2 separate regions of the Homo sapiens genome follow, and region 1 is linked to region 2. The links are contacts of gene promoters, found by promoter capture Hi-C in human tissues and cell types (Jung and others, 2019). All regions are on one chromosome and are shown on one strand. The core of a region is centred on a gene start or on the middle of the fragment in contact, and the rest is flanking DNA. Distances in the headings are between cores, read along the strand shown.

The links. Contacts are between HindIII fragments. The study calls those that stand out against the background at their distance.
Region 1: a contact is called between a fragment that was not itself captured here and the fragment with the promoter of HOXB9 in region 2, in 2 of the 25 tissues and cell types used here (H1 embryonic stem cells and neural progenitor cells).

The regions. Positions count from the first base shown.
Region 1 is chr17:48,520,667-48,525,007 of GRCh38, reverse strand. LOC105371808 (a long non-coding RNA gene) reads left to right here. Exons shown (of 4, transcript XR_934811.2): 2 at 2,116-2,211; 3 at 2,443-2,644; 4 at 4,096-4,341. Among named protein-coding and RNA genes, the nearest start is that of HOXB1, 8.2 kb to the left of the region's middle. RefSeq lists enhancers at 2,217-2,739, 2,587-2,881, 3,706-4,341. The HindIII fragment of the contact is 5,868 bases long and covers 1-4,341 here.
Region 2 is chr17:48,624,491-48,628,652 of GRCh38, reverse strand. It overlaps HOXB9 (homeobox B9), which reads left to right and starts at 2,295. Exons shown (of 2, transcript NM_024017.5): 1 at 2,295-2,900. The coding sequence starts at 2,384. RefSeq lists a silencer at 1,199-1,354 and an enhancer at 2,765-3,442. The HindIII fragment of the contact is 6,922 bases long and covers 1-4,162 here.

The sequences.
Region 1 (4,341 bases), core at 619-3,118, 100 kb after region 2:
GGTGCGATCTCGGCTCACCGCAACCTCTGCCTCCCAGGTTCAAGCAATTCTCCTGCCTCAGCCTTCCTGAGTAGCTGGGATTACAGGAATGCGCCATCATGCCCGGCTAATTTTTGTATTTTTAGTAGAGACGGGGTTTCTCCATGTTGGTCAGGCTGGTCTTGAACTCCCGACCTCAGGTGATCCACCCGCCTCAGCCTCCCAAAGTGCTGGGATTACAGGCGTGAGCCACCATGCCTGGCCAGCCCTGAAGCTCTTCTAACTGTTAATGCAAGTTTCTTTTTTTTCTTTTCCTTTTTCTTTTTTTTTGAGATGGAGTTTGCCTCTTATGGCCCAGGCTATGTGATCTCGGCTCACTGCAACCTCCACCTCCCAGGTTCAAGTGATTCTCCTGCCTCAGCCTCCCAAGTAGGAGTAGCTGGGATTACAGGCATGGGCCATCCCGCCCGGCTAATTTTGTATTTTTAGTAGAGATGGGGTTTCTCCATGTTGGTCAGGCTGGTCTCGAACTCCTGACCTCAGGTGATCTGCCGGCCTCAGCCTCCCAAAGTGCTGGGATTACAGGCGTGAGCCAACACGCCTGCCCGGCCAATGCAGGTTTCTTTGTTGTGAGCATTCCTTGTGCAGATAGCACCGGGCTCCTGGGAAGGAGTTGGTGGGATGATGTTTAGAAGAGAGTGTGGATGGCAGGCTTGGAGGAATCTCTCCAGATGACAGACAAGGGAGATCAAAATGAGCCAGAGAGCAGCACCAAGGAGTTGGGGGACATGTCTAGGATATCTGGGTTCAAATCCAAGCCCTGCCTCTCACTAGCCCTGTGGCCTTGGGCAAGTTGCCTAATTCCCTGTGCCCAGTTTCATTATCTACAAAATAGGGATAACGACAGTACCTATTTCATGGGGTTGATGTTGGGATTAAATGAGTTAATATGTGTAAAATGCTTGGAATGGTCCCACATAAACAAAGTGAGCAATAACAAATTATTATCATTATTAAAAGGGACTGTGATCTTCCCTTCTATAGTCCCCAATCTCTTCCAGGGAGTATCTTGACTATGCCCACTTCTCACACTCATAGCTTATTTGATCCCTGATAGGTGTATGGAGCTAGAGACAAATGGAAGGGATTGCCCTCTTAGCAGCTGAGAACACTGAAGGTTCATTTGGCTGAGAAACCTTTTTGTTCTGTTCTCAGCGTACCCACCTGTCGAAGAGGAAAGTTATCCTGGCCTCTCACACTCATTCCCTCTCTTCTCCATTATAGAAGATGGATAAGAAGTCTGGAAGGCAGAAACTTCAATTCCCTGACTTAGGGTGGTGGAGAGCAAGGGTTCTGGAGTATAACTTAGTGTTCAGAATGGTCCCCTTTTATTAGCTGGATGAGCTCATGTGAGTTGTTTAGTTTCCCTGTGCTTCAGTTTCTTCAGATATACAATGAAGGATATTGAATAATACATGATATATATGAGAGATGCTTAGAACACTGCCTGGTGTATGGTGAGTGTTGAGCAGAGGCTTCCTATTTTACATAGTTACATAGGACATTTTCCTATTACTTTCTTACATTGAGTTATTCTTGGTCTTGGCATGATGAAAGCAGATGTTGTCCAGCCTTGGCCCCCCTGCGCTGTACCAGCAGACCCAGCCAGCACCATAAGCATGGGACTTGCTGCTAGACAGTAAAATAATTATGAATGAAAGGTTTCAGAGGAGTCCACAGAATACAGGCTTTACAGGCTTACAGTTAAGTACAGTATTATAATGAGGGATGTCCTTGACAAGACAGACTCATTGCGTAACTCGGGAGGGTATTCTCGTTGTAGTCCACGAAATTGGCGCCCCCTGCAGTTGTACCAGATTTTTTCCCCTGTGCCTCAGTCCTGGCTCTGAATTCCTTGCATGACTCAACCAGAGTATTCCAGAGGCTTCAGCTTTTGCTATTTCTGTGGCTCTCAAAATGCTTCCTATAATCAGAGTGTATCCTGGGTGGGACAAAAGTTGGAGATGTAAAATACTTAATGTCCATTCCTGGGAGAACATGGAGGCTCAAGTAGCTGCAGGATTCAGCTCCAAGGCTGACCTCCTGGCCCTCATCCACTGTTATTCTCTTCATCAGAAAAGAAATGGATCAGATGCTTCAGAGAAGAAATAATTTTGTAGGAAGTCAGGAGACCTAAGTTTAGTCTACTAAGACCCTTCCTTGTGTCCTTGGGTAAGTCACTTAACCTCTCTGGGCCTATTTTCCCAGTCTTTAATATAAGTTAAATTATCCCACTGCAGCTGGACTCATTCTTTCCTTTGAGGGTAGATGAAGACTTAGGTAAGAAAGAGTGTAAACTTGGTGGGAGATGGAAATAGTTGGGTGGAGAAGCATCCTGTTGGATGTATTTTACTGGCCTAGTTAGAGCTAATTAAAATCACCCCTTTCCTTCATCCTCTCCAGATCACTGGCCTGAGTCCAGAGAATTCTGAGCCCTGCAGCCCTTTCTGCCTGGAGGGGAACCGAGCAGGGAGGGAGCTGCACCAAACATGCGCCCTCTGCTCCTTAGAGGCCTGATGCTCCCTTCAGTTTACTCTGGCTTGACAGCTCCATTTCAACCCCCACCTTGGAGATGAGGCAGCTCAATATTTACTCAGCCAGAGAGGTTTGTCCAGAAGCCTGCCTCCCCAGCCTCCTCCTGTTGGCTCTGCTCTGTTGCCCCCACCCCCTTCCTTCCCGGTTCATAGAGAGTTCAGCCCTGCAATGGCTTGCAGCCCCCTCCACTCCCCAGCCCTGACAGAGCCGCCTGTCGGGGGACTGCTGAGGCCAGAAGAGCGGGGGAAGGGCACCAGTCAGTCGTGGGGTCATGTCCTGGTCTCTCCACCCTTACTGGACCAGCAGCCTAGGCCTCTAGAAGAAGAGAAGACTCAGCAAATGATTGTCTTTTGGGGGAAGAGTGCGTGGAGATTGGCTAAAATGGAACTGTGGGGTTGGGGACATGATCCAGGACTGTAAAAGCTTCACATAGCTGTGTGCAATATTATAAACCATGGTTTATGGTAGAGAAACTTGGTAAATTTGTAACAGTCTGAACTCTTTCCAAAGACACGAAAAGAGCTAATACAATAAATAAGTGACACTTGGGTTTTCAGCAACACATCTGAAAACTGATCTCTTATCTCCTAACATTCTAGAATGTAAGATCCATGAAGACAGGACTTTTTTTTTTTTTTTTCCTTAGAGACAAAGTCTCGCTATGTTGTCCAGGCTAGACTTGAACTCCTGGGCTCAAGCCATCCTCTGGCCTTAGCCTGCTGAGTAGCTGGGACTGTACAGGTGTATGCCTACTGCACCCGGCTAAGCAGGGATTTTTGTTTGTTTTGTTCCTTGTTCCATTTCCAGTGCCTATAACAATGCCTGGAACATAGTAGATGCTCAGTAAATATCTGTTAAATAAACGAATATTGAAGCAAAATTCTTCTGCCTAGAAGACAAGCACCCCAAAAATGGTGTTCTGAAATGATGTTAGGCTGGGCACAGTGGCTCACGCCTGTAATCCCAGCACTTTGGGAGGCCAAGGCGGGCAAATTGCCTGAGGTCAGGAGTTCGAGACCAGTCTAGCCAACATGGTAAAACCCACTCTCTACTAAAAATACAAAAAAAAAAAAAAAAAATTAGCCGGGCATGGTGGCATGCGCCTGTAATCCCAGCTACTCAAGAGGCTGAGGCAGAGGAGTTGCTTGAACCAGCAAGGTGGAGGTTGCAGTGAGCCGAGATCACGCCACTGCACTCCAGCCTGGGCGACAGAGTGAGACTCTGTCTCAAAAAAAAAAAAAAAAAAAAGAAAGAAATGAAGAAACGATGTTAGCTTTAGATGTTTGATTAGTCTAATAGTGCTATCATAATGAATATGTTAATATGAAGATATTTCAGACAGGGTTAGAGATGGATGAGGACTTGGGAGGCATTTTCTTTCTCCCTCCCTTCTGTTAGAGGAATTTATCTCAGGCAAATGACAAAGCATTCACTGGATAGCTTTAGGGCGAGTCTGATCTAAGGGTTCTCCCACAGAGTTTTTGTTTGTTCTTTTGTTTTGTTTGGCTTCCTTTACTTTAGCAAGTGTAAACCCAAGAAAAGACTCAACTTTGGAAATGTAAAGGATTTGAAGGACCAGCTGGATGTTTCTATTGGCAGAAAATGGACAGAGAAGACCTCCTGCAGGGACACCCAAGAGAAGTGAGCCTGTCTCAACCCTTCCTTTCCATCTTCCCACTTCCCACAGAAGCTAGTGTCAGATTCCCTTCTCCACCACTATACCAGGGTTTGGTTTCATCTTTTCCAAAAACATCTGGGTTGTCTTCC
Region 2 (4,162 bases), core at 1,046-3,545:
CAATAAATAAAAAAACCCCAGTCCGTAGTAAACATGTCCTTTTAGGCCCTAATTTATATACTACAGAAATCATATACTCAGCCCACCATGCTTCATAACACCATTATTTATGGCGGGGGAGGGAATCTTTTTTCCTGAAGAGTGTATTTATGACAGGTAAAGCCAACAGCAGACTTCATAGGGCTGGCAAATTGAGAACAGGTGCTTTGCCTTAACTGTGATTCATTCGCTCAGTGCCCAGCTTTTTCGCTGGTGAGTCCGGGGAGCTCCCTCGACTTTCCCAAGCGTCCAACCTCTGCTTGGAAGAATTTGCATCGGATTTTTGTTTCCCCACTTGGGTCCTATGGAAAAGGCAGACCTTCATGCTGTTTGGTTACGGATCTGCCGGGCTGTCACCCTCGGAGAGCAGGGGTGGGAAAGGAGGGGGCCAGATGGGCGCCGGCATTGATCTTTAAAAAATCATTTTGAAATCGCCATAATGTGAAGAAATATGGCGCTTCACCCTCGTATTTCACGTGTAATGACACGAGATGGCTTCATTTGGAAAGACAAGCGGGTGGGAGTGTGTGCCTGTGTGGGAGGTGATCCGCAGCCTTCTACAAGGCAGAGGGGTAGGTGGCCAAAAAGATACGGACTCAAGTTAGAGTGGCCCCTCTTTTGCTAAAAGGACCGGACTGAGGGCAGCCTGCCTTATTAGGACTCAGAGTCAGAGAGTTGCCGAGAAATCCACCCCAATCTACCCCTGAGCCTAACCAGAGGAGAACTGGGTCTGTCCAGGGGTCACACCTCCCCAAGTGCCAGGAGAGGCGACTGCAACCAGGGCAGAAGCTGAGGAGCAGGGGCTGGGAGAGGAGCGAGGAAGCCAGTCGGTGGGCCCCGGGGGAGTCCCTGTGCAGGGCCACAGAATAGATATATATAAAAAGGGCTATTTGGAAGCTCCAATGAAGGGGTCTGCAGGGGGTAAGGCAGTGAGGGGAAGAGACTGACCATGGGCTCGCTGTCCACACTGGCCCCTATATCGGTGTTTGGAAATCTCCAGAGCAGGAGCCTCAGGTGAGAGGAGTAGTACAGGAGGGCTGAAAACTCAGCCCAGGCTCCTTCCTCTTTGGATGGAAGGGGAGATAACTTGGGACCCCTTCCCTTGCTGACTGGGGATCCTTTCCCAGGCCTCTGCTCTGGTCACACCTCAGGAAAGTGGCCTTAACCCTTTCTCCTATTTAGCTCCCTCATCAGGGCAAATTTAGGGGCCTGGGTGGTTATTCAGTGGAGAAAAGGAGAAATGGCTTCCCTCACCCCCACCCCCCACGTCACCACCACCATCTTAAATCCATCCTTCTGGCCAGAGTCAGAGAAAGGCCCAATAAATGTAAAGGCGCTCTGGTTCCTTGTATTAAACTCTTTCCTAGGCTCACGTTTCCGGGACCTGATGGATCCCTTTAACCTCAAGTAGTTTCTAATTTCAGGACAGATAGTGGATTCTTGGACACTCAGTCGTTTTATTCACCTCTCTCCTCCTCCCTCAGCTACTGAGGGGCCCAGGGAAGCTCGCAGTCATGTAAATCTCTACAAAGAGTGCAAGGAGAGCCCCCTCCAAAGCGGACAACGTCCTAAAATCCCCAACTTTTCCCCTCATCATTTTACTTCATCTCCTGTGGATTGCTGCTGCTGTTGTTGTTTAATAAACATCTTTTGTCAAGGGGAAAGAGAAGAGGAAATGAGGGCCTGCGGGGTGGAGGTGTGTGTGGGGGGACAGGAGCACCTCCTCTTCCAGTATCCTCTCGGGCCTCTATGGCTTCTCCCCGGGCTGGGGCTCTCTCCCTCCCTCCGCCCTTGCTCTCCCTCCCTCCCCGACCCGCCTGGGGAGAGGGCTCTACAGCCTGCGTCCCTCCCAAGGCAGCCCGCCGCTTCCCTCCGCCTCTCCTCCGCCCCCGCCGCCCCATGTTGAGAACTGCCCCCCTTCCTGCAGCGGGAGGGGGGGACCGGGCGGCCGGTAGCTGGGGCTGAGGTTACGTGGCCGCCGGAGCCCTGACGTGATAGCACATTGCATCAGCATAAAACAATCCATCCTCGATATGGAGTGCGGTGCGGACGGATGACAGCGAGAGCGCAGCCCCCTCGCCCGATTGATTTATGTCGGAGCTGACGCTTTATCAGGCAGTCGGAAAAACTTTGACCAATCATTTTGCAAGGAGAGCTGAGACGGGCTGCTCCACTGTACTTTGTTGGCTGAGAAGTTGAGCAGGGGGTGGGGGTGGGAGGGTGGGGGGCTGGGGGGGTCGCGTCCGAAAGCCCTCACACCGGTCCGGGTGCCACCTCTCCCTGCTTGGGCGCCGCCGCGCGAGCGCTTCCCTTCCCCCTGCAAGCGCCCGGATAATGTCTGAGAATGTCCATTTCTGGGACGCTTAGCAGCTATTATGTCGACTCGATCATAAGTCACGAGAGTGAGGACGCGCCTCCAGCCAAGTTTCCTTCTGGCCAGTACGCGAGCTCGCGGCAGCCGGGCCACGCGGAGCACCTGGAGTTCCCCTCGTGCAGCTTCCAGCCCAAAGCGCCGGTGTTCGGCGCCTCCTGGGCGCCGCTGAGCCCGCACGCGTCCGGGAGCCTGCCGTCCGTCTACCACCCTTACATCCAGCCCCAGGGCGTCCCGCCGGCCGAGAGCAGGTACCTCCGCACCTGGCTGGAGCCGGCGCCGCGCGGCGAAGCGGCCCCGGGGCAGGGCCAGGCGGCGGTGAAGGCGGAGCCGCTGCTGGGCGCGCCTGGGGAGCTGCTCAAACAGGGCACGCCCGAGTACAGTTTGGAAACTTCGGCGGGCAGGGAGGCCGTGCTGTCTAATCAAAGACCCGGCTACGGGGACAATAAAATTTGCGAAGGAAGCGAGGACAAAGAGAGGCCGGATCAAAGTAAGTTATAAAAAGTGAGGAAATACCCAGGCCGAAGGCCAGGAGGGGGGCGGGGAGGGGAAAGGCAATAAACTGCGGACAATGTGAAGGGAAACTGCGGCGGTGGCCGGAGAGCGGGCCGGGAGGAGGAGGGGAGAGGAAGGAAAGACGGAGGGAAGGGGAAAGCTGCGTGCTCTAGAAGGGGAGACTGAGGCCGCCAGAGGAGCGCTGCCCCCACTTCTCCAAGTCCTGCGGGGAACAGGGGCTCGGGGATCGACTTGCAGCTCTCTCGGCCCTCTTTCCCCCTCTCTCCCGGAGGCCCCAGCTGAAAGCCCGGCCAGAGACCGGCGACGGCCGGGAGAGGAGCTGGCGGGGGCCGGGGCCAGCGGCCAGCGAGGCCGAGAGCCGGCGAGGGCAAGGGCCGGAGCGCACTGGGCTGCCCGGGGCCGTGCGGCTGGCAGAGCTCCCCGCGCCACGCGCAGACCGTAAAAGCCGGCCAAGGGGAAGGGGGAGGGAGCTCATTAGGATTTTATTTGCGATGCAACAGCTTGGCGGAGGATTGTTCCTAGCAGATCTCGCGCTGTAGCCGCGCAGAGTCCGCAACCGGCGACAGGAGGGGCGGGGGAAGCCCAGGACGCGGTGACTGAGCCCCCTCCCCGGATGCGCCGGCCCCTCCCCGGGAGCCTTCCCTCCGGTGGCCCCTCTCCTCCTCGGCGTCCTCGCAGGGGCTACCGCTTCCTTTTCTGCGGTCCCCCGCTGCTCTCTGCGGGGCTCCCGAGCCCCAGCCCGGGCTGTCCGCCTCTTGGGGAGTCGGGGAATCGCTTCCGAATATCGGGGCATCTCGAAGGGACCCCGGGGAGAGGAGGGGTGGGGGGAAGAGAGAGTTGCAGAGAGGCGGAGAACTTTACCCTTTGTGGGTAGTTTCCCGTCACCTCCCACTCCTCAAAAGCACCCCGGCCAGAACGCCAAGTCTGGCTGATTTTCAGGAGGTGCTACTAGATGAGAAGAGAGGGTTCTCCTATTATTTATTTTTAAGGTTGAGAAGGGCTCATCGGTGAGGGAACTCAGCCTCAAACAATGACTCGCAGGCTGGTGGATCAGGTCCTCGTTTCTTACTCTTTTTGGGAAGTAGGGATGTTTTAGTCTCTCCTTGCCCTGCTAGATTTCCCATTGACGGAGTGGCCCCAGGGCCCTTTAGAGCATCCTTGCCTGCTGGAGAGTAAAGAGCAGCCCCATTCCTTGCAGGGTCCTGTCACCTCCAACCTGCCAGGTGGAATCCTAAG